Regions from separate parts of the Homo sapiens genome. Here regions 1 and 2 are each linked to region 3. Evidence: promoter capture Hi-C in 16 types of primary human blood cells and fetal thymus (Javierre and others, 2016). All regions are on one chromosome and are shown on one strand. The core of a region is centred on a gene start or on the middle of the fragment in contact, and the rest is flanking DNA. Distances in the headings are between cores, read along the strand shown.

Evidence for each region. Contacts are between HindIII fragments. The CHiCAGO score rates a contact against its expected background, and 5 or more counts as called.
Region 1: a fragment that was not itself captured here is called in contact with the fragment with the promoter of DDX60 in region 3 in 3 of 17 cell types (endothelial precursors, megakaryocytes and fetal thymus); the score reaches 7.4 in endothelial precursors.
Region 2: a fragment that was not itself captured here is called in contact with the fragment with the promoter of DDX60 in region 3 in 2 of 17 cell types (non-activated CD4 T cells and total CD8 T cells); the score reaches 5.8 in non-activated CD4 T cells.

Annotation. Positions count from the first base shown.
Region 1 is chr4:168,918,455-168,921,936 of GRCh38, forward strand. PALLD (palladin, cytoskeletal associated protein) reads left to right here. Exons shown (of 22, transcript NM_001166108.2): 18 at 3,080-3,287. It also overlaps a transcript of CBR4 not described here. Among named protein-coding and RNA genes, the nearest start is that of CBR4, 90 kb to the right of the region's middle. The HindIII fragment of the contact is 1,241 bases long and covers 1,143-2,383 here.
Region 2 is chr4:168,992,411-168,995,964 of GRCh38, forward strand. All of the region lies in intron 4 of CBR4 (carbonyl reductase 4), which reads right to left. Among named protein-coding and RNA genes, the nearest start is that of CBR4, 16 kb to the right of the region's middle. RefSeq lists enhancers at 1,901-2,707, 2,708-3,513. The HindIII fragment of the contact is 3,707 bases long and covers 1-3,446 here.
Region 3 is chr4:168,316,834-168,320,087 of GRCh38, forward strand. DDX60 (DExD/H-box helicase 60) reads right to left here and starts at 1,919. Exons shown (of 38, transcript NM_017631.6): 1 at 1,789-1,919. RefSeq lists an enhancer at 1,853-2,182. The HindIII fragment of the contact is 2,588 bases long and covers 1,408-3,254 here.

The DNA of each region.
Region 1 (3,482 bases), core at 513-3,012, 600 kb after region 3:
GATCTTACTTATATGTGCAATATAAAAAAGTTGAACTCATAGTAGAGAATAGAATGGTGATTACCACGGGCTAGACGGGGAGAGGGAAAGTTGGGGAAATGTTAGTCAAAGCATATAAAATTTCAGACAGGAAGAATAAGTTCAAGAGATCTGTTGTACAACATGGTGACTATAGTTAATAACGATGTACTATATACTTGAAAATTGCTAAGAGTAGGTTTTAAGTGTTCTTACTACAAAAAAAAATGAAGTCATACATATGTTAATCAGCTCAGTTTAGGTATTCCACAACACATACATATTTCAAAATAATGTGCAGAATTACATACAATTTTTATCAATTAAAAAACACTTAAAAAAATTCATACAGACCACTTGTAAAATAACGTTTTGAGTTAACCAGGGAAATTTTATTTTAAATAGATAATTAGATTATACCAAAGAATTATTAATTTTACGTGTAAAATGGAATTGTGATTATGGAAAAGTCTTGTTTTTAGAAATGCATACTGAGCTATATGGGGGTAATGGTATATAAAATCTGGAATTTATTTTTAAATATAAAAAATAAGAGAGTGACTAAATGATGGGTATATACACACTTACCATACTGGTTATCTCTATTTTTAATCATATTTAAGAAAGAAATAACAGTACTGTCTTTCACTGGACTGGCACATAACTGTCCTTAAAACGCCTGCCATTAAAAGAATATTGGAAACAAAAAGTAAACTGCCTATTGATTTCACTATGATGATCTGACCTGGATAAAGAAAATGTGAAAAATCGGCCAGGCACGTGGGTCACGCCTGTAATCCTAAAACTTTGGGAGGCCGAGGCAGGTGGATCACCTGAGGTCAGGAATCCGAGACCAGCCTGGCCAACATGGTGAAACCCCGTCTCTACTAAAATACAAAAAAATCAGCCAGGCATGGTGGCAGGCGCCTGTAATCCCAGCTACTCAGGAGGCTGAGGCAAGAGAATTGCTTGAACCCGGGAGGCGGAGGTTGCAGTAAGCTGAGATTGTGCCCACTGCACTCCAGCCTGGGCAAGGAGCAAGACTGTCTTAAAAAAAAAAAAAAAGTGAAAAACCTTGCCACATGTACAGATAGATCAGGAAAAAAAAAAAGTTAGTGTATTTAAGCTTTGAAAGGGGAAAAAATCCTGACGATAAGCCAAACACTAAAGCAGCAGCTTGCTTTTCCTCCAAAAAGCCCCCTCCCCTTTTAGCCCCTGAGGAACATTCCTAGACACTGATTATCCTTAACTGGTACTAAATTTTCAGGAAAATAACTAATTCCACTCCCATAGCAACAAGCATCACTATTTTCATGTGTGCTGAGAGTACAGATCTAGTTACATTGTGACCTGCTGGTGGTGACCTTCAGCTCCTGAGATCATGCTGTCTTTACTTAGCCAGGAGAACTGGGGTTAGAAAAAAGGTACAAGGGGCATTCTCTTTGCCCTAGCATGAGTAACTATCCACTGGGTAGGTTCACTGTGAATCACGTGGTTTGAGAGTACGCGTGCTTTGGGCATCTCTCCTACTAAACATACTGTGGCTTCAGTCAGTAGATGGCTTATCTAGGATCTAACCTGGTAAAGTAGGAACAAGCAGTGCCGCTTTGTTTCTAGATGTGGGAACAACAAGGAGCCTGACCAAAGATGTCCACTCCCTCTTCCTCCACACCACTTCTGATGACCTCCAAACAGGTCAGGCAGTGTACATGGAGAGCTGGGGACAGCAAGTGGATAGATAGGAGAACACAGAGCCTGAGTGTCTCAGAAGCCAAGCTGCCTAACTACTGCTGTTTGTTTCCAAAACCTCTTCATCCTTTTAACCAGTCATTTAAGTTTACTTTAAATGCTGTAGCCCTTTGCTACATGTGTGGTGGGAGGCATCTTGCAGGTAATATCAGTTGAGTATCACGTAGCAGGAATGGAATTTGTGAGTCCTCTGGCTGATGCTGGCAAAGCTAGTTCTTCAAAAGAACTGTTTTACAGTCTAAGTGACATCTTTTTGTATATAACTTCGTACTAGTAAAGTTGGGGGTAGGGGGTAAAAAGGCCTTCCTTAACAGTGCATTTCTTCCATTCAAAATCAAGGGCAAAACTAAAAAGCTGGCAGATGGCGACCATCCTGACCCTTTGCGGCACAACATGTTATTAGCAATTAAATGCTTTTATCTGATCTCTGGTCCACACAACTGTCAAGGTCTCAAGATTTTATGATGTTTCCATTGTGATGGTAATTTGTTGAGATGGCTTTCTGGGTAATTTCGTATTGCTCTTGTTATTCAGTTTCAAGGATTATAAAATAATAATAGCAGCCCTGTGTGCTGACGAATGCATTCTCCATAACTATGGCTGCTCCTTGATGAGAAGCTTTACAGTACTATATATAAATGCCAGCTGAGTATTTGTTATTATTGTTGGACATCTTTTTTCAAAGAAGCCCAGAGCCTGGTGCTGATATCATCCCATTAATCTCCATAGCCCTGGGCAAGGTAAGACCATGACAGCAATTTTTTAAATCCCATCTCGGTCTTCTCTAGGTTGCTCTGTAAGAATTGTTTAGATGTAAGCTGGTGAGTGCTCAGGAAGCCAAAGTTTAAAGCAAAAGTTTTAAGCAAAAGAGTAACATGAGCTGATACTAAAAGCCATCTCTTGGCCCGGTGCAATGGCTCATGCTTGTAATCCCAGCACTTTGGGAGGCTGAGGCAGGCGGATCACCTGAGGTCAGGAGTTCAAGACCAGCCCGGCCAACATAGTGAAACCCTATCTCTACTGAAAATACTAAAAATTAGGCTGGCATAGTGGCAGGCATCTGTAATCCCAGCTACTCAGGAGGCTGAGACAGGAGAATCGCTTGAACCCGGGAGGCAGAGGTTGCAGTGAGCTGAGATTGTGCCACTGCACTCCAGCCTGGGCAATAAGAGTGAAACTCTGTCCAAAAAAAAAAAAAAAAAAAAGCCACCTCTTGTACTACTGAAGGAGGAATTTATGCAGACTTCTTAGCTACCAGTGATTTCACTCTGTTTTAATACAAAAATTTACATGTATTTCTTTTATGATTTAGGTCAGTGGGTTACCAACCCCAGATCTAAGCTGGCAACTAGATGGAAAGCCCGTACGCCCTGACAGTGCTCACAAGATGCTGGTGCGTGAGAACGGGGTGCACTCTCTGATCATAGAGCCAGTCACGTCACGTGATGCCGGCATCTACACATGTATAGCTACCAACCGAGCAGGACAGAACTCATTCAGCCTGGAGCTTGTGGTTGCTGGTAGGCTCATCTGTGAATCCTTGCTCTCTGACAGAATGAACATCAGACTTACAAATGTAAACTAATTCTACATTACTAACCAATACGGAAAATAAAGTATTGAAAAAATAGATTGTATCATCAAAATAGCCAATGAGGACATGGTTATAAGGCCTAGCAAAACAGAAACAGAAATCTTTCATTTCTCCCACTAAC
Region 2 (3,554 bases), core at 343-2,842, 680 kb after region 3:
GTGACAGATACCCTAAAAGCCCTGACTTCCCACTATGAAATCTATGCATATAACCAAACTGCATCTGCACCTGCATTCATTTGTATTTATACAAATAAATGAATAAGATAAAAATAAAAAATAAAAATTATGCTATAGAAGGATACTTAAATCTGAAAGTAACATTTGTGTATAAAATGTAGGTTACAAATGAATTAAGTTATACCACTATTAAAAACACAACAAAGAACTTATACTAATGACTGAAAAAAGTACTATATACCAAAATATTAACAGTGATTATCATTAGATACTAGAATTACAGGTAATGATTTTTATTTTCTTTATATTTTTCTGCTCTTTCCAAACTGTCTACAACAGATATATATATTATTTTTGTATTCAGATAAAAAGTTGTTGAAAAAATGCACACAGTACTACCTTCAGATAGTCTGTAATGAAGGCCTGGAATAACAAAACTAATTTTGTATTATGTATGTTTCACTGTGAAATTACACAGTGAAATACAGTCTTCTCTGCCATAACATCTTACCACATTTATTTTAAAAGTCAGCAATATTTCCTTCATATCCTCTCATCTTTAAGAAGAATGAGAAGGCCAGAAGGAATGCAAGAATAAAAGGAGAAGCAGCTAACACAGATATTGATACTAGCCTCTGCAGAATTTCCAACAAACTATAAATGAAACTTAATTTACAGTGAAGAGCCACAATAATCAACAGGCAATCCAATCAGCTTAAGAACAATATCATGGGGGTTCTCGCTGTCCAAAGTTTTCTGTCTTTAGACACATGTATTTTCCTTTTTTTTTTTTTTTTGAGACAAGAGTCTCACTCTGTCACCAGGCTGGAATGCAGTGGTGCGATCTAGGCTCACCGCAACCTCCGCCTCCTGGGTTCAAGCGACTCTCCTGCCTCAGGCTCCCCAGTAGCTGGGACTACAGGCACACGCCACCATGCCCAGCTAATTTTTGTATTACTAGTAGAGACGGGGTTTCACCAGGTTGGCCAGGATGGTCCTGAACTCCTGACCTCAGGTGATCCACCCACCTCAGCCTCCCAAAGTGCTAGGATTACAGGCGTGAGCCACTGTGCCCAGCCAACAAAAGTATTTTCAAAAGTGCCTCAGAGAGTATCCTAGGAAGAAAACCTCATCTCACACTTGTAATAAAAGCAGAATGAATAAAAATTGTCAAAAACATGTAAAAGTTCATGTTATCTTCTCAAAGATAGACACAATTATCCTTTAAGTTCTTTTCAAACTCTAGCAAAATTAGCATAGAATACTTCCCAGTAACTCTCACAAACTGTCAGCATAAAAATCGATGCATTTTAACCCAAAAAACAAAAACAGAAAAACACAATAAACTACAGTAGAAATGGTTTGCAAGAAAGACCTTGTGACTATGCAAATCCCAGGCTCAACTTCTGACTCTGCTGGCCTGGCCTTTTCTCAAAGGCAGTATTTTGTGGTTAAAAAAAACCACTGGATTAGGACACATTAAACTAGATTCTGTTCCCTGCTCTGCTGATACTATTAAAGCTATCACCCGAGAAAAGTCACGTGCTAAGACCAGCTCGGTCACGGAGACCTTAACACAGCAGCACTAGAGGAATTAAAGACACACACAGAAATATAGTGTGGAGTGGGAAATCAGGGGTCTCACGGCCTTCAGAGCTGAGAGCCTCAAACAGACATTCACCCACATATTTACTGACAGCAAGCCAGTGATAAGCATTCTTTCTATAGATGATAGATTAACTAAAAGTATTCCTTACGGGAAACAAAGGGATGGGCCGAAATAAAGGGATGGGTCTGGCTAGTTATCAGCAGCAGGAGCAAGCCCTTAAGGCACAGATCGCTCATGCTATTGTCTGTGGTTCAGGAACGCCTTTAAGCGGTTTTCCACCCTGGGTGGGCCAGGTGTTCCTTGCCCTCATTCCGGTAAACCCACAAACTTCAGCATGGGTGTCATGGCCATCACAAACAGGTCACGGTGCTGCAGGGATTTTGTTTATGGCCAGTTTGGGGGCCAGTTTATGGCCAGATTTGGGGGCCTGATCCCAACAGTCATGTACTATCTGCAACTGAATGACCATTTCTGTATCATAAAATGAATGTAATAGGTGGAAAATGACAGATCTCTGAGGTTTCTTTTCTGTTTTTTCTTTTTTGCTTTTTTTCTTTTGAGACAGTCTGGCTCTGTCACCCAAGCTGGAGTGCAGTGGCACAATCACGGCTCACTGCAACCTCTGCCTCCCAGGTTCAAGCAATTATCCTGCCTCAGCCTCCCCAGCAGCTGGGACAACAGGCGCCTACCACCACGCCTGGCTAATTTTTTTTTTTTTTTTTTTTTTTTTTGAGACGGAGTTTGGCTCCTGTCACCCAGGCTGGAGTACAATGGCATGATCTCAGCTCACTGAAACCTCCGCCTCCCGGGTTCAAACAATTCTTCTGCCTTAGCCTCCCGAGTAGTTAGGATTACACGCATGCATCACCACACCAGGCTAATTTTGTATTTTTAGTGGAGACAGGGTTTCACCAGGTTGGTTGGGCTGGTCTCAAATTACTGGCCTTAGGTGATCAGCCTGCCTTGGTCTCCCAAAGTACTGGGATTACAGGCGTGAGCCACCATGCAGCCTGGCCTGAGGTTTCTTTTAGCCCTACAACACTACGATTCAAAGATTAAAAGTATGCCTCATTAAGTACTCTTCATGACAACTTGACTTGAACTTTAGGAATGTAAGTTCCCTTAAAAGGGCCCTCAGTTCTTACATTGGTAGGTACATAGAGGTTAGAATACTTCCAATTCAAGAAGCACTAACGCTAACCTGGGTTTTCATCCATGCTGTGTTGAAAGGAACTGATCAGCCCTTCTTCTGGGTGGATGTTAGTTCTGATATGTTTGTCCTTTCGGAGACAAAAAGTAAGGCCACAAAAGTTGTGAGTGACCATTTGAACAGGTTTTTTCACCTCGGGGAAAAAAGCAGATCTAGAATAAGGCATGAGATACTGGAAGGTCTCCAAGCCTTAGACAGGCAAGGAGACCTAAGCAGTGAGACACTTTCAGGGACAATCCCAGTGAGATGGAAAGATGACCTCTACCACACAGACATGGGCTGACATCCTTCTTTCTGCTTGTATTACTTTCTAGTCTGTGCTCTCTCTCCTTGGCCCCAAAGGACTCTCCCCCATATCATCCTTTCATTTCATTTGTAAAACTCTGGAAATTTTGCTCTACTCCCCTTTTTGCTAGGTATACATTTACAATGCCTTTCACACTAGGCTATAAACATTACAAACTACCAGTAGGTGCCACTGTCCAACAAATAATGCTACTGCATCTCCTGGAGAGTTAGACGTTTCCAGTTTGGAGGACAGACATGTGATCCCCCAAAAACAACCAAGTAAGCTAGATATGGAACAGATAAAGGCTAACATCTTGAAGCTTTTAATAAGGTCTTGTTAAATGTTATAGCCTGGATTCATCTCTGCTATAGTCTATGTCTATGTTAGGTCAGATCTGTACAAGAGAGAGTGGTGCCCTCTGAATC
Region 3 (3,254 bases), core at 669-3,168:
GATCACCTGAGGTCGGGAGTTCGAGACCAGACTGGCCAACATGGTGAAACCCCATCTCTACTAAAAATGCAAACATTAGCTGGGCATGGTGACAGTCACCTGTAATCCCAGCTACTTGGGAGGCTGAGGTAGAAGAATCGCTTGAACCTGGGAGGCAGAGGTTGCAGTGAACTGAGATCAAGCCACTGCATTCCAGCCTGGGCAAAAGAGCAAGACTCCGTCTCAAAAAAAAAAAAAAAAAAAGAAGAAGAAGAAAAAAAAGAAAACCTGAATCTGATCAAAACGCTAGTAGTAATGATTAATTTACAAGAAATTTAGAGGCCAGCAAAATATGTTAAATGACACCACAGGGATTAGGACACATACACACACACACACATAAACACACACCCAACAGGACACACACATACAAAAACAAACAATCATAAGACCACAAATCTTACAAACGAATAAATTAAAAGGGGATGAAAGAAATTGCAAGAACCTTATAAGGCTTATCCTCCAATCACAGTAGTGTCAGAACCATATTCTGATTCAAACAATCTTAAAAAGGAAGAAGAAAAGAAGAAGGGAGGAAGAGAAATGGAAAAGAGAAAAAAGGAGGGAAGAGGAAAGGCGCAAAGGGGAGGTAAAGAGGAAAAAAATGGGGGCAAGGGAAGGGAAAGGAAATCATGGATTCTGTATTGGAACAGAATGGTGGAGCTACTTGATGAAAGGCATCAAGCTCCTGAAACCCTGCCTGGAGAAGAGCTGGTGGGTTAAAATGGCTTCCAGTACCCGGTATAACCCTCTCCCCTTGAGTGTGGACAGGACCTGTGAATTTAATGGCATAGTCTCTTTAATGATTCGGTTATATTATGTAAGACTTCATCATAGTAGACTCGGGAGATTCCCCCAAAGAGGCTTATACCTTCTTTAAAGGTACCCTATACCTTCTTTAACGGTATAAGCCACCTTGTTGTGAGAAGGCCACTGTAGCTAAGATCTCAGGGTGAAATCTAAAGACATGGGAACCCCCAGCCAACAGCCAGCAAGAAAGCAGGTAACCTCAGTCCTTTAGCTGCAAGAAACTGAATTCTTCCAACAACCTGAATGAGCATCCATGGTGTCCCATGAGGCCACAGCTCTGACACCTTGATTTCAGCTCGATGAGATGCTGAACAGAGAACTCACTTTACCCATGCCTGGGCTTCTGATCCACAGCAATTGTAAAATAATAAACTTGTAATGTTTTAAGCCACTATACCTGCCCCTTGACCAGGAATAAATTAAGTTACTGGAGTAGGAAATAAATTTCTATTGTCTTAAGCCACTGAAATTTAAGGGTGCACAGAAATTACCTGGGGGAATCTTATTAATAAACGCAGATTCTGATTCTACAAGTCTGGAGCAGGGATTGAAGGTGGAAGCTTCTTGCTGCTGTCAATGTACAGGTTTTACTGGCTGTGCTTAGATATGATGTCCCTTAATTTCTCCTCAACCTCCATTACCCAGCTCCCACCTTTGACGGGGACTCCTTAAATGCCTAACTAAGCACTCCTCTCTGTCTCAGACTTCAGGCCTTTCGCGGTTGTCCCTTTCCTCCGCCCCTCCCCACGCCCGGCCTTCCGGGCCAGCAGGGGGCCCGTGCGCCACGGCCTTGCGATCCCAGGAGGTTCCCCAGATTCCCGCGCCCCGAGCCCAGCACTCCTGGGCCACCTCCCTGTCCGGTCCGTTGAAGAAGACCTAGAACTCCCGCTAGACAGCTCCGCCCCAGGCTCTTCCCAAGGGACATCCCCGGCTCCTCACCGCGGACTCAGGACCGGTGGTGTCCAAAGACCCGCGAGCTGCGCGCCCCGCGGGGAGGGAGTGAAACAGAGACCTAGCGCAGAGCCCAGGTGGAAGTTCCAGGTTACCCCAGACCTGGCCTAGGACTCGGCGCTCTGAGCCACCGCAGCCAGTCTTTTATGCATCCGGCGGGAGTTTCGGTTTCCTTTCTCCTCTCAGAAGCACTTAGGTTTCAGTTTCCCTTCAGCACGAATTAGGCGAGGCACTTTCGTGGAAAGTTTAGCATCCTTCCCTTCAATCAGAATCTTAAGAAGGGGAGCATGGCGAGACGTTAGTTAAAAGGTATGAAGTTACAATAGCTAGGAAGAACCAGTTCTGGTATTCTATTCTGCAGTAGGGTGTGTATAGTTAACAATAATGCATATTTCAAAATAGCTAGAAGAGAGAATTTTGAATATTCTCATCACAAAGAAATAGTAAAGTTTTGAGGTAATAGATGGGCTAATTATCCTGATTTGATCATCACACAATGTATACATGTATTGAAACGTCACATTGTACCCCAAAAATATATACAATTATTATGCGTCAATTAAAAATAAAATGAAACTAAAAAAAACCTTAAAAGAGAGAGACAAAGGCAATAAAAATGGGCTTTGGAATTTGGGCATAAATATAGAGTAAATTGAGGCAGAAAAATTTGTAACATCTAAACAAGATAAAATCAAGAAGAGTTAGAATTTAGAAATTGATAAAATGTAAAAGACACTGTGGAATCTGAAACCCCACAATGAAATTGGAGATCTTGCTGCTTCTACTTGTATGCAAAAAGAAAAAAGAAAGTATGTAACAATACATGAACTTTGAGTTTCTGTTATGAGAAGCTGATGATTACTGTTCTGTATAAACTGTAATTGGTACTTTCATGGGCCAAGAATCAACATTAAAAAATAAATTGAAAATGCAGAATGGTCACATTTATTTGTGCCTCAAATTGATGAAATGTTCTCTTAATTTTTGCCTGTTGATACTTGCAGTGTGGGTTTCGATACTCATCTCCTTTCCTTTCAGTGCCCTCGTATGCTTGATTTCATTAATGCTATAAATATGCATTCATATATTGGAAATAGAAGAGGGTGTGGAGGAAAGACAGCAGTGAATTTGGGTAATCAGCATGATAAGAAGCCACAGGCTGCTTTGTCTACAAGGAAAGGAAAGAGCCAAGGTCCAGGCACTGCTCCACAGGGAACACAGAACAGAGAGAGTAGTGAATGATACTTTGTCTTGTGAAAAATTAGAGAGTCAAGTTGTTAAAAGAGGGGGATATGGGGAAGGAGGACATTTCTCACATCCATCAGACAATTACTTGTTTATTCATTTGTTTAGAAATTCACGTGTTTGTTAGTGATGAGATTAAGAAAGAAAATAAAAGACTCTAGAATTTAACACATGATTGGTCTTAAATCAGCCAATATTCCTGTCTCCTT